Regions from separate parts of the Homo sapiens genome. Here regions 2, 3, 4, 5, 6 and 7 are each linked to region 1. The links are contacts of gene promoters, found by promoter capture Hi-C in blood cells and fetal thymus (Javierre and others, 2016). All regions are on one chromosome and are shown on one strand. The core of a region is centred on a gene start or on the middle of the fragment in contact, and the rest is flanking DNA. Distances in the headings are between cores, read along the strand shown. Region 1 holds the start of PRKDC (protein kinase, DNA-activated, catalytic subunit). Region 2 has its middle 31 kb from the start of SNAI2. Region 3 has its middle 76 kb from the start of SPIDR. Region 4 has its middle 55 kb from the start of SPIDR. Region 5 overlaps SPIDR (scaffold protein involved in DNA repair). Region 6 overlaps SPIDR (scaffold protein involved in DNA repair). Region 7 overlaps SPIDR (scaffold protein involved in DNA repair).

Region 1 (3,808 bases), core at 605-3,104:
GTTGATCTATACCATCTAATCGCAACAGCAAACTGAATATTTATTGCAACCTGCGGTGGCTGAGATTCTGAGCACTCTTAAATGTTCTATTAAAAAAAAGCACCAGAGAAGCTGCTTCCTCTGCTCACTAAGCCCTAAAACTACTATTTTCTGCACTCCGTTCAGCTCCTCTGGTTAAGAACATGCTCAGTCACGTGCAGAGGGGATGCTTTAGGCGTTATGCCAACTGTTATAAAGCCAGTAAACCTGAGCAGATAAAGCATCAGCTGTGTATCAAGCACAGCAAAACCAAGATCTTCAGACACGCACCTGAAGAATGCATTTGGGGAGGGCTGGAAAACAGCACGTCCTGCGCAGCAGGGCTCTGCAGGTCCACTCCAGGCGAGGTTGGCATCGGCTGCAACTCCCCCGTGGAGGTGGAATCCTCGCCTCTACGTCTCTGAGAGGGAGATGACCTGGCATCCTCACTCCGAGCTTGTGTCACACAAAACAGAAAAGACAGCCATTAACTTTCAGGGCCGGCCTTCCTGGATTTGTCTTTTCCTTGGGGCATTATGACTCACCACTGAACCAAACCAAACAGAGGCAAATGGCAATCGAATTAAGCAGCACCCAGGCCACAGCCTGCTGTGGGTGTCTGTGCGCACCAAGCGGCAGCGCCCAGCCCGAGGCTGAGCGCCCGGGTCCCGCGCACCCACCCAGCGCTGCCAGCTGCGGCGAGAGGGCAGACGGGGCGGCGCCGGGGGCTGTAGTGGGCCCGGCTCGGGGGACTCACGCGTCTGGGCGGGGGTGGCCCTTCCACGCCGGCTGCCGCGGCGGCTCGGGGTCGACGCCGGGGACGACATAGTGCTCGGAGTACCTGCGCGACAAGGACAAGCTCGGGCCGGGCCCGCCTCCCGGCTTCCCTGCCCTGCTCCGCAGCGCGGACGTTCCCGTCGGCTCCGCGCCACGCCCTCCCCGCCGGCGCGCGGTTACCGTGGAAAGGCGGCCGCTTGCCGACGACGCTCGCGGACTCCGAGTCCACCTGGCGAGTAGCGCTCCCAAACCGCGAGACCCAGAGTTCCCGCCGGCGGCAAGGTCGTCTCCGCCCCTGGCGGGGCCTCACCAATCACAGCGGCGCTCGTACGTGGCTCCGCCTCCGGGAGGCGCCACTGCGCATCGGCAGGGGGGGACAGTGCCGCTTCTTTCAGCGCCCGTGCGTAAACCAGAAGTAGGCCTCGCTCGGCCCCCCTTGGTCCAGATGGTCTGACCCCCTGCGCGGCAGCGTTTTCGCGGGAAAACTGGGTCCTACAGCACCAGCTCTCGGGGTGTGTTCCTCTAGCGTTGGCTAGGGAGCGTGTGCTTCTTTATCCCTTAGGCGTTTTTGGTTAATAAGGACATTACAGATGCATTTCTCACTTAAAGATTTTTTTTATTAAAAAAAATTAAGGACGGGAGGTGGTGGGGATGGTCTCATTATGTTGCCCAGACTGGTCTCGAACTCCTGCGATCCCCCCGCCTCAGCTTCCTAAAGTGTTGGGACTGCAGGCGGGCATCACCGCCCCCGACCGCGTTTGTCGTTTTTTATCGAGGAACAAACTTGGAACTCTTGACCTAGGCCCCTCGCTTGTTTTATCTGCCTCTGGTATTTATTTAGCCAAGTCCAACACCAAGTAGCCACCCAAACTACCTCCGCAGGTCAGACGTTTTTCCTTAGGTTTCCATGTTGATTCGGGCCAAAGAGGCGCGCTTACTGGCCAGGCCTTCCCGCAGGGGTCCCCGGGAAAGTTCCTGCCGCCGCGCCCCGCAGCCCCGCCTCCGCGCGTAGGGGCATTTCCGGGTCCGGGCCGAGCGGGCGCACGCGCGGGAGCGGGACTCGGCGGCATGGCGGGCTCCGGAGCCGGTGTGCGTTGCTCCCTGCTGCGGCTGCAGGAGACCTTGTCCGCTGCGGACCGCTGCGGTGCTGCCCTGGCCGGTCATCAACTGATCCGCGGCCTGGGGCAGGAATGCGTCCTGAGCAGCAGCCCCGCGGTGCTGGGTGGGTACCGGCCCGAGCTGGGCCGCGGGTGGGTCCTGGCTTCCCGAGTCGTTCTGGAGCCGGGCAGCCCGGCGCTTCTCTGTGTTTAGATGACGGTATTTTGAAGTACAGCAATTAGATTCTTGGGGGAATTTCTGTGTATGTGTATAAAGGGATTTGTCATACTGCTTTTTACCCCCTAGTATTAGAGGAAAGATATTTTAAAGCCAAAGTTGGTGAAAACGACCCCTAATATGGCAATCATTGCTATGCAGAGTGGGGGGCAGGGCAAGAGAAATAATTTTTTTTTTTTTTGAGACGGAGTCTCGCTCTGTCGCCCAGGCTGGAGTGAAGTGGCGCGATCTCGGCTCACTGCAACCTCCGCCTCCCGGGTTCAAGCTATTCTCCTGCCTCAGCCCCCCGAGTAGCTGGGATTACAGGCGCGCGCCACCACGCCCGGCTAATTTTTTTGTATTTTTAGTAGAGATGGGGTTTCACCATGTTGGTCAGGCTGGTCTCGAACTCCTGACCTCGTGATCCCCCCGCCTCGGCCTCCCAAAGTGCTGGGATTACAGACGTGAGCCACCGGGCCCGGCCAAGAGAAAGTATTTTCTTTCACCTGAATCTCGCCTAATCCCACCAGTACCTTTTCCAAACCCCTCTATTTGCCGTTCCTACTTTGAGAAAAATTGAAGAAATGTAATTGAAGTCATGTTCTTTTAACTCTTTAGCAATGCCTGGGTGGGAACTTTTTCCCCTTTGTAGTAAAAGTGCCTCTTTTTAGCATTTTAAATATTCAAATACTTAATTATGTGGATCTCCTGTATTCCTTCTTTAAAACACGAGTATGCAGACCTTGATGTTGTGCCCTATTAAAAGGTGAGATTTTCTTCCGGAGGGTCTAGTAGTGAATATGGTGTAGGAATAACTTAAACAGTTTAAACTAGATGCTATATGTGGCACGGTGCGGTGGCTCATGCCTGTAATCCCAGCACTTTGGGAGGCTGTGGCAGCTGGATCACCTGAGGTCAGGAGATGGAGACCAACCTGACCAGTATGGTGAAACCTTGTCTCTACTAAAAATACAAAAATTAACTGGGCATGGTGGCGAGCGCCTGTAGTCCCAGCTATTCGGGAGGCTGAGACAGGAGAATGTCTTGAACCCAGGAGAAGGAGATTGCAGTGAGCCGAGATTGTGCCACTGCACTCCAGCCTGGGCAACAGAGCACGACTCCGTCCCAAAAAAAAAAAAAAAAAGATGCTATATACATGTATCCTATATGTACTCTATCTGTTGTCAAGAATATATTAACAATGGGGAAATATCAAACAAAAAACTAACATTGCGTGATTACTTTCTCTTCTCAGGGTTTCAAATTTAGAATTCATTTTTGTTCGTTTAGTAACTTGTTTCTAAAGCACTTCCAAGTTTACCTTCCATTTATGCCATATCTCCTTTCACTTGAGAGATTCCAGGGGAAGTGTATTAGTTCCTTATTGCTGCTGTAACAATTACCACAAGCTTAGTGGTTTAAAACAGCACAGGTCTGTTACTCTTACAGTTCCCACTGTAAGGGGGATTCTGTGAGTCAGAATCCCACACAGGTCTCACCAAGCTAGAACCAAAGTACCAGACAGGGCTGCTTTCTTTCTGAAGGCTCTTGGGGAGGATCCATTGCCTTATTCATTCAGGTTATATAGGATTGAGGTCCCTGACATTCCATACTTCTTGAAGCTGTCCCCTTTCCTTGGATCACAGCTCCCTTCCCTTGGTCTTCAAGGCCAGCAACAGCATGTCAAGTCCCCCTAACT
Region 2 (3,808 bases), core at 351-2,850, 990 kb before region 1:
GCTGCTATAAAGACACATGCACATGTATGTTTGTTGTGGCACTATTCACAATAGCAAGGACTTGGAACCAACCCAAATGTACAACAATGATAGACTGGATTAAGAAAATGTAGCACATATACACCATGGAATACTATTCAGCCATAAAAAATGATGAGTTTATGTCCTTTGTAGGGCCATGGATGAAGCTGGAAACCATCGTTGTCAGCAAACTATCATGAGGACAAAAAACCAAACACTGCATGTTCTCACTCACAGGTGGGAATTGATCAATGAGAACGCTTGGACACAGGAAGGGGAACATCACACACCGAGGCCTGTTGTGGGGTGGGGGAAGGGGGAGGGTAGCATTGGGAGATATACCTAAAGTAAATGGTGAGTTAATGGATGCAGCACACCAACATGGCACATGTATACATATCTAACAAACCTGCACGTTGTGCACATGTACCCTAGAACTTAAAGTATAATAAATAAATATATATAATACATATATTTTTAAAAAGTAGGAAGTGGATTTCAAAGGAAAAAAAGAAATTTATTGATGTTCTTTGTTATTATTAAAATAAATTGATGTTCATATTTTAAAAGAAAAGAAATTCAATTATTATTCTAGAAAGCAAGATAAATTGCAAATTGATCAGCCATTTAAATGTGAAAAATGAAACCATACAAGTATTAACAGAAAACACCAATGAATTTCTCTGAAACATGGCAGCAGAAAACAATTTCCTATCATTTGAAATCCTGAAGCAATAAGGGAAAATATTTATTAATAGAATTTTTTATTACATAAAAATTTCTGTGATGAACAGGCAAACAAAAAAACACCATAAGCAAAGTAAAACTATATTTGCAACATTTTACAAAGGGTTTCGTTTGTAATATATAAAGCTGCAATTACACAATTAATAATAGATTGAAGATATAAAAAGCCAGCTTACAGGAAAAAAAAATCTACAAATGGCAGTTCACCTTACTAAAAATGCTCTCTGTTTTGCATAAGTGAAATGCAATTTTTTAAGATGTGATATACAATTTTCCAAAATCAGACTGATGACATAACCCAAAATTTAACAACATATACTGTGGAGGAGATCCTGGAGAAATAGACAGTCCAATAAATTCTTAACAGATAAAATTTCATTCCTGATGGGAATGAAGACTACTATTCCCTGCAGAGGAGAATTGTCAGTCACCTGCAGTATTACATATGCATTTACATTCTGACTCATTAAGAGCCTCCATTTTATTTAGCCCTCCCTGTGACCATGCCCTTTGGACATACATTTCTACACTGACTCTGAGATTGGCAGTGGGATTTTTCTCTGGCCAATGAGTCATAGCAAACTAGACCCTAGCAAAGCCTTGGAAAAACAGTTAGGAAGTTTAGCATTCTACTGGAGATCCACACCCCACCATGAGAATGTGTCCCCCATAGGAAAGAGCCTGAGTGACAGACCCCAGGGGGAGAGCTGTCACTGCAGCCAGGACCATTCCAGACCAAGAAGCTTGCCACCAGCAAGCTGTGGCTAAAGCACACGAGACCACCCAGAGAGTATTTTTAGTGTCCTTTAATCCAGAATGGACTTCCTTGCCCAAAGTACCCCATGCAGATTATTTACAAAGTGAAAAAGCTCTTTTTAAAACAGCAAAATGATTAGTAAGGGATCAAGCGATCAAGCTTCATATCATAAGACAAACTGACATGATGTGCCACCAGATTTGACACAATTATTAGAATAATGTTAATCGCCTATGTGGTACTCCTGCCAAAAATGTTAACCTAAATCTTCACATAAATCCAGATTGTGGGACATTTTACAAACAACATTTTTTTTAATACCAAGGCATAGAAGTCACATGCATTGTTACAATATCAGGATGGATTGAGGTATTTTAAAGCAATGATCAGTTACAATTTTGGCACCAAATAAATCTCAAGTGGACAAAATGATTCAGGGAAATAAGATTTCAGCTTCCGAAGCCAGAATTAAAGTTGTGAGAGAGAAAGACATGGTACCCAGAAAGCAGAGAAATATAGCGAATTTAAGAAACATATCTAGAAAATAACAGTGGGTGTGTTTTTGCCACATATACTTGAGGAATCAATTCTCTTGAAAGCCACCAAAGTCTTTTGAGGGTTTTGCTGCCTAAAGAAACAATCAGCCAGGGAGAAAGGAGACTGAGACTGTATTAGAATTAAAAGAACCAAATGTGTATAACATTCCATGGGGAAGTAGTGGCTCAAGAAACTAGTCCCCAAGGAGCAACCATGCCCAGTGACCATTTCAAATGTGACCAAGGAGCATATGAAGAAGGAAGAATATTTCAGGATGTGTTGGAGACCATGGTGATCAAGGCACTCTGGGAAGAAGAATCAGAGCTGGGTCAAGGAATAATTCCACTTCCTGTGTGAGGGATGCTTAAAATATCTGCCCAGTGAATACTTAGAGTCCCAGTGACTTCTGTATGTCCCTCATTATTATTTTTTCAAGTGGAGAGAGTGTTTATTGTCGACTTTTTCTTCCCTTTTCACCATCATATATCAGGTGTATAAAGGGACAGCTCATTGGTCTGTAGACCAAGGCAGACATCCACCTGTGGAGGCCTCAGACACTCTGCAGACAGTCTTGACTTTAAGTATAGGGCCTGCCAGGATTGGAACCCTGGGCTGCTCCCCTTAAGAAGAAGTGAGAACATCTTGCCTTTGGGGAGGACCATGAGCTGAGTATGTGTGACAGAAGCGCACACTTAGAAGGAACTAGTGCTATTTGTTAAACATGCTGACTTTCCGCCCTCAGATGACAAGACTGAATTCCCTGCCCCTCTTCTGTTTAGGTGGGTCCATATGACTAGTTCTAAGGCCAAATGGCTATGGAGAGCCTGGCGTGTGCCACTCCTAGAAGAGAATATTTTATTACAAATGTCAGTCCCTTCCTCTCTGCCATGACAATTGGAATCCCAAGTTTCTATAAAAAGCAGAGAGTCCCCTCCCTACTCTAGACATAGTCTCAACATGTGCATTTAACATAAAGCAAGAAATAAACCTCTATGTTTTAAGCTAGTGATAGTTCATGTTGTTCAAATTTAATATTTGTTTCCTTACTGCAGCATGACTTAGCCTACCCTGAATGACACATAATTCGCCCATAATTCCCAGGCTTCCAGGACCCTGTAGCTGGGTAGCAAGATGGGCATGTGAAGGAATAAGGGTCCCTGCAAACAACAAACTTCACCCCAATGGTCAAATGAAGATCCTTAAAAGCAGGGCTTACTCATACAGACACAGACAGAGGAAAAGAACAAACAAGACAATGAGGTGCACGGAGTTAAGTAGGAGCAGGAGACTGGCACCACCCACAGGATGGAAGGGGCACAGGGAGGGAACAGAGACTCTGAAACCCAGTGGGAGCTGGCACTTTAGGCAAAGGGTGACCAAACTGCTTGCTCTTCAGGGCAGGAGGCATGACTGTGACACAAGGAAGGAGAGGAAACCCCCAAATCTCTCCCTTTGCTGCTCTGCTACCCAGGGACTCCTAACTAGCCAACCAGAAGCCTAGGGAATGCACTCCACATGTGCTAGCCCTTGAGGGCTTACAGAGGAGTGGAGAAAAGGTCTGGGATGGGAAATGGGGAGGAACTGGTCCAAACGACAATTGTAGGTGCTCTGATCAAAGTAAAAAGAGTAACACATAGGGTGCTTTTAGAAAAGCAGTGAATTCTCTTGAAACAACCCCTTAAAATTATGAATTTTCATGCTCAAGAAGCACCTGTGCAAAGTAGTAGAATTATAGCAGCATTATTT
Region 3 (3,808 bases), core at 371-2,870, 770 kb after region 1:
CTGTGCTTCTGACCAAAGACCTATAAACTGAGGATCCCACAACTCCTCCTTGGCTTCAATTAATTTGCTAGAATGCCTTGCGGAACTCAGGAGAACACTTACTTAAATTCACTGGTTTATTATAAAGGATATAACCGACACAGATGAAAAGGTGCATAGGGTGAGGTATGGGAAGAGGTGCACAACCATCCAGTAACCTTCATGTGTTCAGTCCCCGAGAAGCTCTCCCAATCCAGCCCCCTTTGGGTTTTTATGGAGGCCTCATCACACAAGCTTGATGGAGTAAACTACTGACCACTGGTGATTAACCTGCAGCCCCTCTTCCCTCCATGGAGGTTGGGAGACAAGGCTGGAAGTCCCTATCCTCTAACCCTGCCTTGGTCTTTCTGGTGACTGGCCCCTATCCTGAAGCTACCTAGGGACTGCTGGCCATCAGTCATCTCAGTGGCATACAAAAAGGCATCACTTCAGTAATTCTAAACGTTTTATGAGTTGTATGATGGGAAATGGGGTCAAAGACCAAATTCATAATTTATGATATCACAGGGATGGAAAAGAAACAGGAGACCGAGGATTTCTAGCCCACACTAATCCCTGTTATGACAGATATGGAATCCCAATCCACAGGAGGCAGGAAGCTGAGAGGTGAGACAAAACCTATGAAAATCAGAGATGAGGGGCAGGTCTCAGTTTCTTGTGACTGAAGTGATAGAGCCCTGCCAGGCTCTCACTTGGATTGACAAACTAAATAAAAATATATACCCTTAAAACAAAGAACACATCTGAGTATGCATCCGAAAGAATGGAAGTTAGGATCTTGCAGAAATATCGATACACTCTTATTCATTGCAGTATTAATCACAGTTTCAAAGACAGGGAGGCAATGTAAGGTCCACTGATCAATGAATGTTTACAGAAAATGTGGTGTATAGATGCAATGGGATACTATTCAAATTCATAGAGAATTAAATCTTGCCATATGCTACAACATGGATAACACTGGAGCACATTATGCTGAGTGAAATAAGTCAGTCACAGGAGAAAAAATGCTGCCTGGCTCCATTTGTGTGAGGTCTCTATCATAGTCAGCCTAACAGCAGTGGAGTAGAATGCCAGGGGCAGAGGGAGAAGGAAATGGGGAGTCACTGCTCAAGGGCTATGAAGCTTCAGTTATGCAAGATAAGTAAGTTCTAGAGATGTGCTGTGCAACACTGTGCTTACAGTTAACAATGCTGTATAATGTACTTAAAATTTTGTTAAGAGGGTAGATTTCATGTTAAGAGATCTCATGTTAAGTGTACTTATTAAAATGGAAAAAAAAGGCCAGGTGCGGTGGCTCACGCCTGTAATCCCAGCACTTTGAGAGGCCGAGGCGGTGGATCACGAGGCCAAGAGATCGAGATCATCCCGGCCAACATGGTGAAACCCTTTCTCTACTAAAAGTACAAAAAATTAACTGGGCGTGGTGGCAGACACCCAGCTACTTGGGAGGCTGAGGCAGGAGAATCATTTGAACCAGGAGGCGGAGGTTGCAGTAAGCCGAGATTGCGCCACTGCACTCCAGCCTGGCAACAGAGCGAGACTCCGACTCAAAAAAAAAAAAAAGAAAAAAAAAACCCTTAAAAATAACAGGATGGAAAAAACATACCATGAAACCATTTACAGAAAGTTTCTGTGGCTATATTAGTGGTACTAGGAAGTGCAGAAATCCTCAGCCCTTTGTTTGTATTGGGAAAAAGATTTCAGCCAAGAGACAAGTTAACCAAAAAAGAGGGAATTTATTGAAGGAAGATAGGGAGCAGAAACTCTATGTGGCGGGACAGTACTTTGAAAGGTGCAGTTAATGAATGCATACTGCTTTTTCTCGATACTGGGGCAGGTAAAGATGGACCCTTTTCTGCATCTGTGTTGTGAGTAGCTAATCATCCACCCTGTAGTGCCATGAAGGTCAGGGCCATTTGCAAGCACAGAACCTACATTTTCTTTGTACGGTGATTCCACATGCACATATGAGTCACTGCTGGTCACTGAGTGAGGCAGCATCCTTACTCTCAGTGACCTTGCTAGTAAGCTTTCCTGGGGTTTGATAGTCAGTAATAGGTGCATGTGTAGGTATATGGATGTACGTATGTGTATATGTGTGTGTGTATATATATAGAGAGAGAGAGAGAGAGAGAGAGAGACAGAGTCAGAGAGAGCACATGAGTGCTGGGGGAGGGGAAGAGGCTTCACAGAGGTCTTGAAGCATGAGGAGTAGTTTGCCAGGAGATAGGGGATGAAGAACATTCTAGACAGATGGAAAAGGAGGAGCAAAGGCATGGAATGGGGACTAGAGAGCCTGGAGAGGGCAGAAGGGAAATGGCTGGAGGGGTCATGAAAAGCCTGGAATGCCACTCTCCAGAGATTGAGTTCCACCTTGCAGTACAGAGGATGACCTGTGGGTTTTATTTCATAAGTCATCTTCATTTCATTGCTAGTGTGCTAATTTCAGAGCATGTGTTAAGAAGGATTCCGAGGTGGGGCCAGGCACGGTGGCTCATGCCTGTAATCCCAGCACTTTGGGAGGCTGAGGTGGGTGGATGACGAGGTCAGGAGATCGAGACTCATCCTGGCTAACATGGTGAAACCCCATCTCTACTAAAAATACAAAAAAAAAATTTGTTCGGCATGGTGGCGGGCGCCTGTAGTCCCACCTACTCGGGAGGCTGAGGCAGGAGATTGGCGTGAACCCCGGAGGCGGAGCTTGCAGTCAGCTGAGATTGCGCCACTGCACTCCAGCCTGGGAGACAGAGTGAGACTCCATCTCAAAAAAAAAGAAAAAGATTCCGAGGTGGCATCAGGGCAAAAAGTGACAGATCAGTTAGCAATGTCCCCTGTACTGCAGGGGTGGAGCAGTACACTCCACTAGAGTGTACTGGGTGGGCACTAGAGATTTGCCACCCCTGCTGTAGGACAGTGAGAGCCACTGAAGGATGGGAGAGGGTTGGGGTAGAGGAGCAGGGGCTCGGTATGTGTGTTGTAGAGGATCAACCGGAAGCTCTGGGAGCACGAATCATAGGGAGGCAAGGCTAAGGTCATGTTGCCAATGAGCCAGCACTGAGTTAAAAAATATCTGAGGAGCAAATGAACCGCTGAGTGTCTACAAGGCAAAGAGTGGACATTTGCCTTGTGGAACACAAACGCCAGTATATTTTATGTGCAGAAATGTGAAAAGGAAGAGACAGAGGGACCAACGGAGACACAGAGCAGACAATGGGTGCACAAACCAGCCGTTTGTCCTTCTCAAGAGCTGCCCAGTTGGGAGTCAGCCCCACTCTCCTCAAAGGCCCTTTAGCAGAGGAGGGGACTGCAGCTCCTCCAGGTCTAGGGTGGCTTCAGGGTGGAAGGCACTCTCCCTGACATAGCTCCTCTAAGGGCTGGGCCTCTCACCTGTCTGAATCCCAGGGTGATGCCTGCACAGCCCAGAGCTTCCTAAATGCAGGTTCCCAGGAACCGACCCACTCAGCAGCTGCCTCCCCAGGGAACCCATGCAGACCAAGGGACCAGGACAAAAGGGCTTCATGGGCACTCCCTAGGTACTATTGCTGTGAATAAGCATAGGCCATTGGAAGTCACTGGCATTGAAAAGGAGACAGGGCACATGGGAAAGAATGCCTAGTAAGCATCAGAAATGGTTCAACCGTGCAGGGCAGCACATTGCAATCTGTAATTCAGAGATGCTGCCATGTCCAGTGGAGAGAGGCCTGGGAAACCAGAGGTTCATGAACAGCCAACAGATACTCCCCACCAGCACCCCTACTTCTTGTCA
Region 4 (3,808 bases), core at 369-2,868, 750 kb after region 1:
CGTTACTCTGTGGACTCTCCCTGAATTCTTTCTTGTGCAAGATCCAAGAACCCTCTCTTGGTATCTGGATCAGGACCCCTTTCTGATGGGTGGATAGATGGTGTCTGCCATGCAGCCATTGCTGAGCCAGGCTCAGGGAGAAGGGGCAGAATCTCACAGTGGACTTCAACCAGACTCAGTCTGGTGGAATATTCACAGCCACACAGGGGGCCCTAGAGGGGGCTCAGTGTGACAGCAGAAGTGAGAGGTGTGTGGGCAAAGGAGCAGTTCATTGAGACTTCAGTGGATCCAGTATAGAGGAAGAGCAACTGGCCACGTGGTTGGGGCAGAGGGCACTTTGAGAGAGGGTGGGATAAGGGGAGAGTTTCCAGAGATGAGGCCTGCGGGGGAAATGCAAGACCTCCCAAGGAATTAGCAAGTGGCTTGGTGTGTCTCATGGGGTGGGATTCTAGTCATCTGGATGGGGACAGCTGCCCTGGAGCAGCCCTGGGAGAGAGCTTAGGAAGGAGGCTCACCTGAGAGCAGCTGTGACTTCTGGAGCTGCACAGTTGATTCTTCCCAAGTGAGACACACAGAGGTTTTATTTTCATTGCCTTTTTCTCAGATTCTTGACTATGTTAACCTGGGGTAAGGGATGTGAGAGAAAGCAAGAACCCCCTTTTTAAGGGGCCTGCAGACCCCAAGCACAGAAATAAAGGAAAATCCTGAGTTCCTCTGAGGGCAATTCCAGGCACTTCGCAATCCCCAACAAGTAAATAAGTGACTTGTTAAGAAGACAACAGTAGGCTAAAACAATAGCTAAAGAGGTTAGAGTCCCAGAGATATTAGCTTTCCCTACAGAAACCAATGATAATCTCTTAGCTTATGTCCCTGAGTTGTCTTTCAGAGGCTTGGATCCCCACTGAGGACCCCACAGAAAGGATCCACTGACATATTCCCCCAGATAAAGGGGAAGTGAAGACTAAACTTTAAACGATTTTTGGTTCTAAGTTTCTTCCCAAGGGGTTTAGAGAAAGTCATTCCTCATAACCAGTTAACATTCTTCTACTGACCCCAAATGTTTAAACAAAGCTTCTCTATTTTAGTCAACTGCAAATCAGAAGATCTTTGAATCTACCTATGACCTGTAAGCCCCTGCTTCAAGATATCCCACCCTTTGGGGCCAAAAACAACATGTAACTTCTGTGTATTGATTTGTGATTTTGCCTGTAGCTTCTGCTTTCCTGAAATGTACTACTAGTTTTAAAAACCCTTATCTGCAAGCCACCGGGGAGTTCAGATTTTAAGCAGGAGCCCGCCAGATTCTCCTTGCTTGGTGCCCTGCAATAAATGCCTTCCTTTCTATTCACTGCAAAACCCTCAGTTTAGATATCTGGTTTTACTGCGCTGGGTGAGTGGACCCCAGTTAGATTCTATAACAAGCCCTGGGTGTTCTCAGGCAGCCAGGGGAGGAGGTAGTTACTGATTCTTCCCCAGTCTCTGGGGAGCATCAATCTTGCAGAAGGTGCTTCTAGGCAGAAGCCTGAGCAACAGCAGAACCTCCTGACTGATTCCCATAGGCTCAGCCTCAGGGCCTCCCAGCCCAGAGACCAGCCCACGGGTCACATTCCTTTCTCTTGCAGTGGGGTATGTGTGCATGTGCATGCATGTGCAAATGTGTGTGTGTGTGCATGTGTGTGCATGTCTTCACAAATTCATTCTGTACTACTCCTGCTTCTCTCCATCACTGTTGCCCATCTGCAGGCCGTGGCCTGTATTGCATGAGGAGGGCAGCTGTGAAATTTAGTTGGGGAGGATCCCTTCCCCTCCCCACCCTCTTAAATCCACTCAGAACTGGTGTTTCAGGGAGAGCCTTGGATTCCACAAGTCCAGTGCTTTAAAAGTGAGCCTCAGAAAGGGAGGGGAACAATTCTGTTCCTCCTGGCTGTGGCAGCTGAAAATACCTGGAAATAGATGTGCTTAGAGTCCTGAGAAGACAGGGTGGGGCCTCAAGCCCCAGACACTAGGGGGTCCTGGATCAGTGTTCCAGGCTGGAGGTGCTGGCCTCACAATGCCCCTACCTGCAACTCAGTGAGGAAAAGGGTTGCACACACACGCCCCCAACCTGCTTCCTCTCCCTTCCCTCAGTCTACAGCCTTGAGAACTAAGAGCTCACCTAAGCTTTCATCAGTCACTGCTGTATGTGTGCTCTTGTCTCTGTGTGTGTGATAGTGTTTGTAGATTTTCCCACCATACTTGGATGCTTGTATTTTTTACAGAAAAAAAAATATAGTCACTATCTGAAATATAAGACAATGAAAAGTACATAAAGTCAGCTCCTTGTCATTCATTCAGTGAATATTTATTGAGCACTAGGCCTTCCCAGATACTGGTACCGGGAGTATTGGTGTGAATACAGCAGCCACAGTGCCTGCCCTTAAGAAGCTGACATTCTAGTGAGGGAGACAGACACAAAACAAGTTAATGTGAAATTACCAAGCATGGCACATGCCTATGAAGAAAAGAATAAGGTTCTGGAAGAGAGAGGACCTCAGGGCATCTCCTAAATCCTTATCCATACCCATATCCTTACAATCAATCATGTTTTCCAATGGCTTATTTTAGTGATTTATACATCTTGGCTCAACATCAGAACCATCCGAGGAACTTTTATTTTCTGTACTATGGAAATCTATACCTCACCTGACCTCCTGAATCAGAATTTTCACCCAAGGAGCTATACATTTATGAAGCTCCACAGATTATCTTGAGACATGCAAGATTGAGGACCATTGGCCCATTTAGGAGGCTGTGCACACATGACTCCTGTTTTCTGTGGTGAAAATAGAGGCGAGCTCAACATTCCTGACCCAGCGTGTCTTTCAGATGGTTCCATAGTACCACCTCCTGAGCCGGTTCAGCTTTGGCCTGTGGGGTTCTTTTTTTTTTTTTTTTTGAGACAGAGTCTCGCTCTGTCACCCAGGCTGGAGTGCAGTGGTGCAATCTCAGCTCACTGCAACCTCCGCCTCCTGGGTTCAAGCGATTCTCCTGCCTCAGCCTCTCAACTAGCTGGGATTACAGGCACCCGGTACCATGCCTGACTAATTTTTGTACTTTTTTTTTTAAATTAGAGACGGGGTTTCATCATGTTGGCCAGGCTGGTTTCGAACTCCTGACCTCAGATGATCTGCCTGCCTAAGCCTCCCAAAGTGCTGGGATTACAGGCATGAGCCACCGCACCTGGCTGGCCTGTGGGGTTCTTGTAAGCACGGCCATGGCCCCTGCACCCAACAGTGCTTTGGTGGAATGAGAGGAAGAAGCAAAGGGGCTTCCCCACTGACCCTATTGTGCTGTGGGAGGAAGCCTGACTGGACACATGCAGGACATTGCTCTGTTTTGGAATCATGTGAGGACATGTGTGTGAGTGTGCATCTGTGTATGTGTGCTTGTGTGACTCTACATGTGTGCACGTGTGTATGTGTGATGGTGCATATCTGTCTATATGTGTGTGTACGTGCCTGTGTGCCTGGGCATGTGTGTGTGTGTGCGTATCTGTGTATATGTGCATGTGCGTCTCTGTGTGTGTATATGTGTATGTGTGACTGTGTGTGTCTGTGTGTGTGCACATTAATGGATTTAATATGTCTTTTAAAAGGAAACCCTCTTTCAAGGCAAAATTCAACTGAATTTGACTCTGCAAATATTGTCAAAGAAAGACCATTTGATTTCATGGTAATTTTTATAATTGATGGAAAAGTGAACACTCAATCTTTTTAATTAATAGACTATTTTTAGAGAAGTTTTAAGCTTACAGAAATTCAGCGGAGAG
Region 5 (3,808 bases), core at 335-2,834, 680 kb after region 1:
GAAGGATTTATTAGTCTTATATCTTCTCTGTCAAGAAATCAACAAAATAGTTACCTTGCTTGGGTCTAGGGCATAATTCAAGGTGCTTTTCTGTAATCGTCTTCTCTTCAGCTGTTAATGACTGTAGGCAAAATAATAATCATGGAATTTATGTGACAAATGCTAAAAAAAAACTTTTATAAAATATTCAAAATCTTAAACTACACTCTCCTTAACATATTCTTCTCTGATTTCCTTTACCAATTCACCAATTTCAGTAATCCCAAAGCATGTACTCCTTATATATTTATAAATTCATTCTATTTTTCCTGAATCTAAAGAGATCTGACTGACCAAAACGTTTCCCATTAACATTCAGTGTAATATCTGCTCATACATGTGACTCCAACTGCCTATGAGGTACTCATTACTACTCATACCCAAATTATCTTGAATTTGTAATAGCATTACTCTGTAAGTTACCACAAACACAAAAATTATCCAGAATATCTCATTGCCAAAAGATTCTGAATATAAAGGCATACCTTGTTTTATTGTGCTTCATAGATAAAGCATTTTTTTACAAATTGAAAATTTCTGGCAATCCTGTGTCAAGCAATTCTGTATGCCATTTTTCCAACAGCATCTGCTCACCTATAAACTTGTGTCTCTGTGTCATATTTTGATAATTATTCCAAGATTTCAAACTTTACCATTATTATTAAATCTGCTATGATGGTCTGTGATCAGTGATCTCTGGTATTACTACTGTAACTGATTTGGGGTGCCACAGTCAAAACCAATATAAGAGAGCAAAATTAATAAATGCTGTGTGTGTTCTGACTGCTCCACCAACCAGCTGTTCCTCCATCTCTTGCCTTCTCCTTAGGCCTCCTATTCTCTGCAACACACCAATATTAAAATTAAGTCAATTTAATAACCTTACAATCGCCTCAAAGTGCTCAAGCAAAGGAAGAGCTGAATGTCTCACACCTTAAATCAAAAGCTGGAAATGGCCGAGCACAGTGGCTCACGCCTGTAATCCCAGAACTCTGGGAGGCCAACGCAAGTAAATCACCTGAGATCAGGAGTTCGAGACCAGCCTGACCCACATGGTGAAACCCCATCTCTACCAAAAATACAAAAATTAGCTGGGCGTGGTGGCGGGCACCTGTAATCCCAGCTACTCGGGAGGCTGAGGCAGGAGAATCACCTGAACCTGGGAGGTGGAGGTTGCAGTGAGCCAATATCGCACCATTGCACTCCACCCCGAGCGACAGAGACAGACTCCCTCTCAAAAAAAAAAAGAAAAAGAAAAAAGAAGCTGGAAATGATTAAGCTTAGGTAGGAAGGCATGACAAAAACTAAGATAGGCTAAAAGCTAGACCTCTTGAGCCAAACCGTTAAGCCAGTTGTGAATACAAAGGGAAGCTCTTGAACGAAATTGAAAGTGCTACTCCAGTGAATACACAAATGATAAGAAAGTAAGACAGCATTATTGCTAATAGAAAGTTTTAGCAATCTGGATAGAAAATTGAATCAGCTATAACATTCCCTTAAGCCAGAGCAGAATCCAGAGCAAGGTCCTAACTCTCTTCAATTCTATGAAGGCTGAGAGAGGTGAAGAAGCTGGAGAAGAAAAGTCTGAAGCTAGCAGAGGTTGGTTCATGAAGTTTAAGAAATCATCTCCATAACATAAAAGTACAAGGTAATGCAGGAAGTGATCCAGAAGATCTAGTTAAGATCACTGATGAAGGTAGCTACGCTAAAAAACAGACTTTCAATATAGATGAAAGAGCCTTATATTAGAAGATGATGCCCTTTAAGACTTTCGTAGCTAGAGAGAAGTCAATGCTTGGCATCAAAGCTTCAAAGAACAGACTGATACTCATATTAGGGGCTAATGCAACTGGTAACATTAAGTTGAAGCCAATGCTCATGTATCATTCTGAAAATCCTAGCGCCCTTATGATAAATCTACTCTGCCTGTGCTCTATAAATGTAACAACAAAGCCTGGATGACAGCACATCTCTTTACAGCATTCTTTACTGTAATACTTTAAGCCCACTGTTGAGATCTGCTCAGAAGAAAAAGATTTCTTTCAAACTATTACTGCTGATTGACAATGCACCTGGTCACCCAAGAGCTATGATGGAGAAGTACAAGGAGATGAATGCTGTTTTCATACCTGCTAACACCACTTCCATTCTGCAGACTATGGATCATGGGGTGATTCTGACTTTCAAATCTTATTATTTCAGAAATACATGTCATATGGCTGTAGCTGCCACAGATAGTGACTCCTCTGATGGATCTGGGCAAAGTAAACTGAAAACTTTCAGAAAAATATTCACCATTCTATGTGCCATTAGGAACATTCATGATTCATGACAGAAGGTCAAAATACAGCATTAACAGGAGTTTGGAAGAAGTTGATTCCAACCCTTGTGCATGACTGAGGGGTTCAAGACTTCAGCAGAAAAACTGATGTGATAGAAACAGCAAGAGAACTAGAATTAGAAGTAGAACCTGAAGATATGACTGAATTGCTGCAATTTCCTACGAGTTGAATGGATGAAGAGTTACTTCTTACCAATGAACAAATAAAGTAGTTTCTGGAGATAAAATCTACTCCTGGTGAAAATGCTGTGAACATTGTTGAAGTGATAACAAGTAATTTAGAATATCCTATAAACTTAGTTGATAAAGCAGTGTCAGGCTTTGGAAGGATTGAGTCCAATTTTGAAAGAAGTTCTATTACTGGTCAAATGTTACCAGCATCACACGCTACTCAGTAATCTTTCATGAAAGGAATAGTAAATAGATGTGGTAAACTTCACTTTTGCCTTATTTTAGGAAACTGCCACAGCCACCCCAATCTTCAACCACCAACCATCTGATCAGTCAGCAGCCATCAGCATCAAGGCAAGACTCTCCCCCAGCAAAAAGATTATACCTTGGTGAAGGCTCCTATGATTGTTAGCATTTTTTTTAGCAACAAAGTATTTTTAAATTAGGGTATATACATTGCTTTTTTAGACATAATACTATTGCACTTAACAGACTACATTATAATATAAACATAACTTTTATAGGCACTGGGAAACCAAAGAATTCATGTGATCACTTTATTGCAATATTCACTTTATTGTGTTGGTCCTGAACCAAACCTGCAATATCTCCAGAGTACGCCTCCAGAGTAAACATGCATTTCTTGTGAAGAGTAGTATGCTCAATGGTTTCATCTTCTGAGAACATTCTTAGTAAATATCCTTCATTTACAAACAAAGAAGTAGAAAGGTTCTGCATGGATTAAAGAGGTTCAGGTGTGAGCTGGGCATGGGGGCTCACACCTATAATCCCGGCACTCTGGGAGGCGGAGGTGGGAGGATCACTTGCAGCCAGGGGTTAGAGACCAGCCTAGGCAACACAGCAAGACCCTGTCTCTACAGAAAGATTTTTAAAAATTAGCCAGGCAGCCGGGCACAGTGGCTCACGCCTGTAATCCCAGCACTTTGGAGGCCAAGGTGGGTGGATTACCTGAGGTCAGGAGTTCCAAACCAGCCTGGCCAACATGGTGAAACCCAGTCTCTACAAAAAATACAAAAATCAGCCGAGTGTGGTGGCACGCACCTGTAATCCAAGCTATTCGAGAGGCTGAGGCAGGAGAATTGCTTGAACCCGGGAGGCGGAGGTTGCAGCGAGCCAACATAGCCTCACTGCACTCCAGCCTGGGTGACAAAGTGAGACTCCGTCTCCAAAAAAAAAAAAAAATTAGCCAGGCACGGCGGCACATACCTGTAGTCCCAGCTATTTGACACGCTGAGG
Region 6 (3,808 bases), core at 333-2,832, 650 kb after region 1:
CAACAGCTTCACTATAATGTACTTAAGTGTTATTTTATTGTATTTATCTTGTTTGGAATTCACTGAACTTCTTCAACATGTAAATTCATGTTTTTTACCAATTTAGGGAAATTTCCAGCCATAATTTCTCCAGAATTTTTTGACCCAATTTCCCCTGGCCTCTATTTCTAGGACTCCAAGTGTTAGACCTTTTGATATTGTCCTACCAGCCACTGAGGCTAGCTTCATTTTTTGAAATCTCTTTTTCACTTTTTAAGAAAGAATAACTTCTATGAATCCAACAACTTCAATGACTCCTTTTCTTTTCCTAATCTTCTGTAATCTCTAATCAGTTTTCATTTGAAATATTGTATTTTTTACCTATAGAATTTTCATTTAGTCCTTTTACCTAGTTTCCATTTTTCAGCTGAGGTTTCTTATCTGTTTATTCATGGTGTACATATTTTCTTTATATAACCTTAAGAAGAGTTATAACAGCTGCTAATTCTAACATAGGAGTCATATCAAGGCCAGTCTCAATTAATTGGCTTTTCACTTAAGTATGGGTCACATTTTTCTGTTTGTGTATGTGTGTGTCTACTGAATATGGATTGTATTCTGGACACTGTGCATAGTACATTTTTAGAAACTCTGGATTTGATTATGTTCTTCTGAAGACTATTTAGTTTTTTTTTGCTTAATAGGTAGGTAAGTTGGCTATACACCTCTGAACTCTTTCTTGTGCAAATGAAATATCTTTAGTTATTTTAGCCTAAGACTTTTATGCAGAATTTGGGACACCCTTCTTTATGAAAGACTACTTTATACTCACTAACTTTCTAGCTGCTAGAGTCACCCCTAACTCTGTCTTGTGGTTTTTATTCAAGCTTCCGTCACCTACACAACCAATGACCGAGTTCTGTCCTCTGGGAAACATCCACAAAAAATGAAATGCTCATCTTATACCATTCTATCTTCCAAATGTCAACATCCTTCAGTTTCTTCCTACTTTCTGTCCTCCTACTGTGCTTTCACATACTTTTTTTATATTTTGTCCAAAAGTTGTCATTGTTATTTTCAGGAAAGGTAGTCCGACATGTGCCCCTCTGTAATTATTAAAAGCACAACTCCAAAGAATTGTTTATAATACCAGAAGACTACAAAAGTGACATCCATAGTGACTTTTTTTTTTTTTTTTTTTTGAGATGGAGTCTCGTTCTGTCACCCAGGCTGGAGTGCAGCGGCGCGATCTCAGCTCACTGCGACCTCCACCTCCTGGGTTCACACCATTCTTCTGCCTCAGCCTCCCGAGTAGCTGGGACTACAGGCGCCCACCAACACGCCCGGCTAATTTTTTGTATTTTTAGTAGAGACGGGGTTTCACTGTGTTAGCCAGGATGGTCTCAAATCTCCTGACCTCGTGATCTGCCTGCCTCGGCCTCCCAAAGTGCTGGGATTACAGGCGTGAGCCACAGCGCTGGCCGACTTATTACTTTGTTTTTTGAGACAGAGTCTGTCGCCCAGGCTGGAGTGCAGTGGTGCAATCCCGGCTCACAGCAAGCTCTGCCTCCCGGGTTCACGCCATTCTCCTGCCTCAGCCTCCTGAGTAGCTGGGACTACAGGCGCCCGCCACCATGTCCGGCTAATTTTTTTTGGTATTCTTTAGAGACAGGGTTTCACTGTGTTAGCCAGAATGGTCTTGACCTCCTGACCTCGTGATCCGCCCACTTCAGCCTCCCAAAGTGCTGGGATTACAGGCGTGAGCCACTGTGCCTGGCCAACTTACTACTTTTTAACATTACACAGTTGTAACAATATTTCCTAAAGCAATCATTTTCTGTTATAGTCCTTCTTATATCAGAAAACAGAAGTATTTGGGAAATGAAAAGATGGAGAAGAAAGAGGGGAATGAAGGGAAATAAGATGACCCAGTGATACTGAAAGGGGAAGAAGGTTCATGCAAAGAAAAGGAACAATCTGACAAACTCCTTGTCCTGGCATCTTTTAAGCTAAAGTTCAGCTATACAAGAAGGGAGATGATGAAAAGATAAAATATAATTTCTGGCACAGATGCAACAATTGATATTGGTACCTACAGTTACTCACTTTCATAAAGAGAATAAAAGCCCGAAAATGCTATACTAAGATAATGAACAGATACAGTATATAATACATGAGTTATAATATAAAATAACAGTAAAAAAATACAGACTCCTCAATAAAATCTCCAACCTTTTCTTTTTACCATAAGAACACACTGGAATATAGACTTCAGTACAATGTTTCTATAATTAAATCTTTAAAATATAATCATACAAAAAGCTTGACTAAGAACTCCAGATTTCCCTTTACAAGCACTAAATTTTATCAGTTTTTATATAAGCATATATGAGAGGTTTCTAAAATGTATGATGATCAGAATTAAACTCTTTCAACTATAGGTAACTTATACGCAATCAGAGGATTCTGGGAAGATGGTGGAGTAGGAAGCACCACGCATGTGTTGCTCCACCTAGAAGATCATTGCACTGGCAGAATCTGTTCTATTTAACTATTTTGAAACTCTGGAATCTACTGAAGGCTTGTTAATGTCCAGGGGAAGGCCTGAATATAATTTTAATCACTTGCAGGTATTAGCACTAGCACAGTAGCAGCTATCCATTTGCCACCCTCAGCCCCAAGGCAGGCAGTTGTGCATGCATTCCAAGGAGCAGCTTGCGCGCAGCTTACAGGAACCAAGGACAGGCAAAAAGGACCCTCTCTTCCAAATATAGGGCATGTGTGCCCTGATCACTGAATGCTACTTCTGATCACAGAAATGGGACAAAGAGGTGGACACACATTGTTGCTTCATCTCCACTCACTGTTACAAGCCCTCTCCCACCCCCATCCCCACCCCCACCCACAAAGTAACTGCTGGGGATTTAAAGGATTTAGTTTTTCTCTTTTTCCCTTTTGGGAGTCAGATGTTAAAGACTACGGCATTTGAAAGCAACTGTATATAAGGGAAAAATTAGAAACTTCCTGCACATTCCTGGAGAAAAACTCAGGCTTAGAAAAGACTCAGAGAATCTTAAGCTTACACCTCAGGCTGATCCTTCACATACAGACAAGCCTCAAACAATAAAAATAAACAAAAACAGTAACATTAGAAAAAAAAAAAAAAAACAGCAGGCCGGGCATGGTAGCTCATGCCTATAATCTCAGCACTTTGGGAGGCTGAGGTGGGCAGATCACCTGAGGTCAGGAGTTTGAGACGAGCCTGGGCAACATGGCGAAACCCCATCTCTACTAAGAAGCACAAAAATTAGCTGGGCATGGTGGCACACACCTGTAATCCCAGCTACTTGGGAGGCTGAGGCAGGAGAATCGGCTGAACCCAGGAGGTAGAGGTTGCAGTGAGCCGAGATCACACCACTGCACTCCAGCCTGGGCAACAGAGTGAGACTCTGCCTCAAAACAAAACAAAACAAACAGCAAATGCTGGGGAAGAGGGAGAATCTAATTTCCAGACTTACCACATCATTATATTCAAATGCCCTGTTTTCAACAAAAAAATAACAAGATATACAGGAAAGTATGACACATTCAAAAGAAAAAAAAATAAAACAACACAACTGTCCTTGAAAAAGACCTGATGGCAGACCTTCCAGAGAAAGACTTTATGACAACTGTTTTAAAGTTGTTCAAAGTACTAGGGCGGGCACAGTGGCTCATGACTGTAATCCCAGCACTATGGAAGGCCAAGGCGGGAAGATCACCTGAGGTTGGCAGTTTGAGACCAGCCTGGCCAACATGGCAAAACCCCATCTCTACTAAAAATACAAAA
Region 7 (3,808 bases), core at 551-3,050, 630 kb after region 1:
AAAGACAAAATTATACTAATAATTATAACAGATACAATATGTATAACAATAATAGCATAAAAAGGAGGAAGAGAAAGTAGAGCCATATAGTGGTAATGTTTCTATGCGTGACTGGCATAAAACTAGTAACAAATCTAAGGAAGATTTGGTTGAGATGTACCTGATAAGCACTAAAGCAACCCATGAAATCTCACTCAAAAACATATTGTAGGCTGGGTACAGTGGCTCACACCTGTAATACAACACGTTGCGAGGCCAAGGTGGACAGACCACTTGAGGCTAGGAGTTAGAGACCAGCCTGGCCAACATGGTGAAACCCTGTCTCTACAAAAAAATACAAAAATTGGGTCGGGCGCGGTGGCTCACGCCTGTAATCCCAGCACTTTGGGAGGCTGAGGCGGGCGGATCATGAGGTCAGGAGATCGAGACCATCCTGGCTAACACGGTGAAACCCCATCTCTACTAAAAATACAAAAAAATCAGCCGGGCGTGGTGGCGGGTGCCTGTAGTCCCAGCTACTCGGGAGGCTGAGGCAGGAGAATGGCGTGAACCCAGGAGGCGGAGGTTGCAGTGAGCTGAGATTACACCACTGCACTCCAGCCTGGGCGACAGAGTGAGACTCCATCTCAAAAAAAAAAAAAAATTAGCTAGGCATGGTGGCGCATGCCTGTAATCCCAGCTACTCAGGAGACTGAGGCACGAGAATTGCTTGAACCCAGGAAGTGGAGTTTGCCATGAGCCAACATTCTGCCACTGCACTCTAGCCTGTGCAACAGAGCAAGATGCTGTTTCCAAAAAGAAAAAAAAAATTGTGAAAATGACATTAGAAGAACTAAATATTGCCAAAGAAAATACTGCTTTAAAGTAAAAGAAATGAGGAAAGACTTGAGAAAAAAAACCCTGAAACATTTAGAAAAAGAAAAAGTAAACTGGTGTACATAGATGCAACTATATCAACAATAACATTAAATGTACATAAATTAACCCAGCCAAAGGTAGAGACTGTCATGCAGGATAAAAAAGTGAAGATTCCACTGTATGCTCTGCATAAGAGATACAATACACTAAACAAGGGTGTCACGACCTGCCAGTAAGGAAAGAATAATCTTTTCAACAAATGGTGCTGGGACAACCGGATTTCCATATTCAAAAAAATGAAGTTGGTACCCAACGTGGTGGCTCACGCTTGTTATCACCAACACTTTGGGAGGCTTAGGTGGGAGGATCACTTGAAGCCAGGAGTTTGAGAACAACCTGGATAACATAGCAAGACCCCATCTCTGAAAAAAAAAAAAAAAATAATTAGCCAGTCTTGGTGAAGTCTTAGCTATTTGAGAGGTCGAGGTGAGCGGATCACTTGGGCCCAGAGGTTCAAGGCTGCAGTAAGCTATGATAATGCCACTGCACTCCAGCCTGAGTGACAGAGCAAGACTTTATCTCTTTAAAAAAAAAAATGTAGTTGGACCACCTGCCTCACACCATACACAAAAATTAATTCAAAATACATCAATGGCCTAAATAGAAGAGCAAAAACCTAAGAAAACATAGATAATAGATCTTCATGATCGTGGATTTGGCAATTGTTTCTTAGATATGACACCAAGATTATGAGCAACAGAAGAAATAATAGATAAACTGAACTTTTTTCAAAACTAAAAACTATTGTGCATCCAAGAATATTGTCAAAAAAGTGAAAAAAAAAAACCAAAAAAAAAACACGGCCAGGGGTCGTGGCTCATGCCTGTAATCCCAGCACTTTCGAAGGCCAAGGTGGGTGGATCGCTTCAGCTCAGGGGTTCAAGACAAGCCTGAGCAACATGGCGAAACCCTATCTCTACAAAAATACAAAAATCAGGTCAGGTGTAGTGGCTTATGCCTATAATCCCAGCACTTTGGGAGGCCAAGACAAGTGGATCACCTGAGGTCTGGAGTTTGAGATCAGCCTGGCCAACATGGTGAAACCCCGTGTCTACTAAAAATACAAAAATTAGCCAGGCATGGTGGCACGTGCCTGTAATCCCAGCTACTTGGGAGGCTGAGACAGGAGAATCACTTAAACACAGGAGGTGGAGGTTGTAATGAGCCAAGATTGCGCCACTCCACTCCAACCTGGGCAACAGAACAGGACTCTGCCTCGAGGGGGAAAAAATTAGCCAAGTGTGCTGGTGCGTGCCTGTAGTCCCAGCTACTCGAGAGGCTGAGGTGGGAGAATTACCTGAGCCTGGGGAAGTTGGGGCTGTAGTGCTATAGTGAGCCATGATTGTGCCAGTGCACTCTAGCTGGGCAACAAAATTAAAACCCTGTCTCAAAAAAAAAAAAAAAAAAGTGAAAAAACCACCTACTGAATATGAGAAAACATTTGCCAGTCATATATTTGACAAGGGTCTAGTATCCAGAATATATAGATCATTCTCTTATAACACAACCAGAAAAAGAAATCAACAAAAAACTTGAATAGATATTTTTTCCAAGAAGATATTCAGATCACCAACCACCACATGAAACAGTGCTCATCATCATTAGCTATTAGAGAATTGCAAACCAAAACCTTAATAAGGTATCATTTCACAGCCACTAGGATTTTTTTTTTAAGTGGGTAGAAGAGACCATAATGTAAGTGCTGGCAAGGGATGTGGAGAAACTGAAACCTTTGTGCGTTGCTAACAGGAATGTAAAATGGTTCAGTCATTGCAGAAAACAGGTAGTTTTTCAAAGAGTAACATAAAATTACCATATAGTCCAGCAATTTCACTCCTTCATATATATCCAAGAGAACTGAAAACAGGTACTCCGAAATGTGTAAACCAGGGTTCTAGCAGCTCTATTCACAGTAGCCAAAGGGAGGAAATAAATACACATCAGTGGATGAATGGCTAAACAACGTGTGGCATATACATTCAATGGAACATTATCCAGCTATAAAAAGGAATGAAGTACTGATACATGCTACAATGTGGAGGAACCTCAAAAACATTTTGTTAAGAAGCCAGACACAAAAGGTCACATGCTATATGATTTCCATTTATGTGAAATAACAGAACAGGTAAAACTACAGAGACAGAAAGCAGACTGGTGTTACCAAGGACTGAGATGAGGTGGGGAATACGGAATGGATGCTTAATAGTATAGTGTCTCCTTGCAGAGTGATGAAATGTTTTAGAATGAGATACAGGTATTAGTTGCAAAACTTTGTGAATCCACCAAGTGCCACTGAATTATTCACTTTTGAATGTTAATTTGATGCTATGTGAATTTCACCTCAATAAAGTAAAATTTTTAAAAAGTAAACTGAGAGACCTGGTAACAAACTGGATGTTGCTAAAGATGTGTATGTACGTGGCAAGGCTGAAAGCAAACATTCTTTAAAGAAAAGAGTTGCATTTTCCATTATTACATAAAAGAAATTAGGTGTGGTGGCTCATGCCTGAAATCCCAGCACTTTGGGAGGCTGAGACAGGCAGATGGCTTGAGCTCAAGAATTTCAGACCAGTCTGGGCAACATGGCAAAACCTTGCCTCTCTAGAAAAAAATAAAATAAATAAATAAATACAGAAACGAGCAGGACGTGGTGGCATGCACCACTAGTCTTAGCTACTTCGGAGGCAGAGGTGGGAGGATCACCTGAGACTGGGGAGGTGGAGGCTGCAGTGAGCTGTGAGATCACACCACTGCAGTCCATTGTGAGAAACAAAGCCAGACCCTGTCTTAAAAGAAAAAAAAAGCATGGATGAAGCTTATTTTGGAAAAAGATAGAGATGGTCAAAAGAAAGGACAGTCAAGTTGCCATTATCTTCCTGTCACCTTTAGG

What was found. Contacts are between HindIII fragments. The CHiCAGO score rates a contact against its expected background, and 5 or more counts as called.
Region 2: a fragment that was not itself captured here is called in contact with the fragment with the promoter of PRKDC in region 1 in 1 of 17 cell types (naive CD8 T cells); the score reaches 6.2 in naive CD8 T cells.
Region 3: a contact is called between a fragment that was not itself captured here and the fragment with the promoter of PRKDC in region 1, in 1 of 17 cell types (naive B cells). The highest score is 5.4, in naive B cells.
Region 4: a fragment that was not itself captured here is called in contact with the fragment with the promoter of PRKDC in region 1 in 4 of 17 cell types (neutrophils, total B cells, M0 macrophages and 1 more); the score reaches 11.5 in neutrophils.
Region 5: a fragment that was not itself captured here is called in contact with the fragment with the promoter of PRKDC in region 1 in 5 of 17 cell types (neutrophils, total CD4 T cells, fetal thymus and 2 more); the score reaches 10.6 in neutrophils.
Region 6: a fragment that was not itself captured here is called in contact with the fragment with the promoter of PRKDC in region 1 in 1 of 17 cell types (total CD8 T cells); the score reaches 5.4 in total CD8 T cells.
Region 7: a contact is called between a fragment that was not itself captured here and the fragment with the promoter of PRKDC in region 1, in 1 of 17 cell types (neutrophils). The highest score is 7.9, in neutrophils.

Annotation. Positions count from the first base shown.
Region 1 is chr8:47,958,182-47,961,989 of GRCh38, reverse strand. PRKDC (protein kinase, DNA-activated, catalytic subunit) reads left to right here and starts at 1,854. Exons shown (of 86, transcript NM_006904.7): 1 at 1,854-2,017. The coding sequence starts at 1,864. MCM4 (minichromosome maintenance complex component 4) reads right to left here and starts at 1,049. Exons shown (of 17, transcript NM_182746.3): 1 at 976-1,049; 2 at 776-859; 3 at 310-474. The coding sequence starts at 845. RefSeq lists silencers at 616-1,015, 1,686-1,985, 1,996-2,045 and an enhancer at 2,226-2,385. The HindIII fragment of the contact is 8,899 bases long and covers 1-3,520 here.
Region 2 is chr8:48,950,581-48,954,388 of GRCh38, reverse strand. No RefSeq gene overlaps it. Among named protein-coding and RNA genes, the nearest start is that of SNAI2, 31 kb to the right of the region's middle. The HindIII fragment of the contact is 173 bases long and covers 1,514-1,686 here.
Region 3 is chr8:47,182,976-47,186,783 of GRCh38, reverse strand. No RefSeq gene overlaps it. Among named protein-coding and RNA genes, the nearest start is that of SPIDR, 76 kb to the left of the region's middle. The HindIII fragment of the contact is 907 bases long and covers 1,167-2,073 here.
Region 4 is chr8:47,204,118-47,207,925 of GRCh38, reverse strand. No RefSeq gene overlaps it. Among named protein-coding and RNA genes, the nearest start is that of SPIDR, 55 kb to the left of the region's middle. The HindIII fragment of the contact is 1,089 bases long and covers 1,074-2,162 here.
Region 5 is chr8:47,280,341-47,284,148 of GRCh38, reverse strand. It overlaps SPIDR (scaffold protein involved in DNA repair), which reads right to left. Exons shown (of 20, transcript NM_001080394.4): 3 at 55-121. Among named protein-coding and RNA genes, the nearest start is that of SPIDR, 21 kb to the right of the region's middle. The HindIII fragment of the contact is 528 bases long and covers 1,321-1,848 here.
Region 6 is chr8:47,307,707-47,311,514 of GRCh38, reverse strand. All of the region lies in intron 5 of SPIDR (scaffold protein involved in DNA repair), which reads right to left. Among named protein-coding and RNA genes, the nearest start is that of SPIDR, 49 kb to the right of the region's middle. The HindIII fragment of the contact is 1,435 bases long and covers 865-2,299 here.
Region 7 is chr8:47,325,909-47,329,716 of GRCh38, reverse strand. The region is part of intron 5 of SPIDR (scaffold protein involved in DNA repair); the gene reads right to left. Among named protein-coding and RNA genes, the nearest start is that of SPIDR, 67 kb to the right of the region's middle. The HindIII fragment of the contact is 3,871 bases long and covers 1-3,735 here.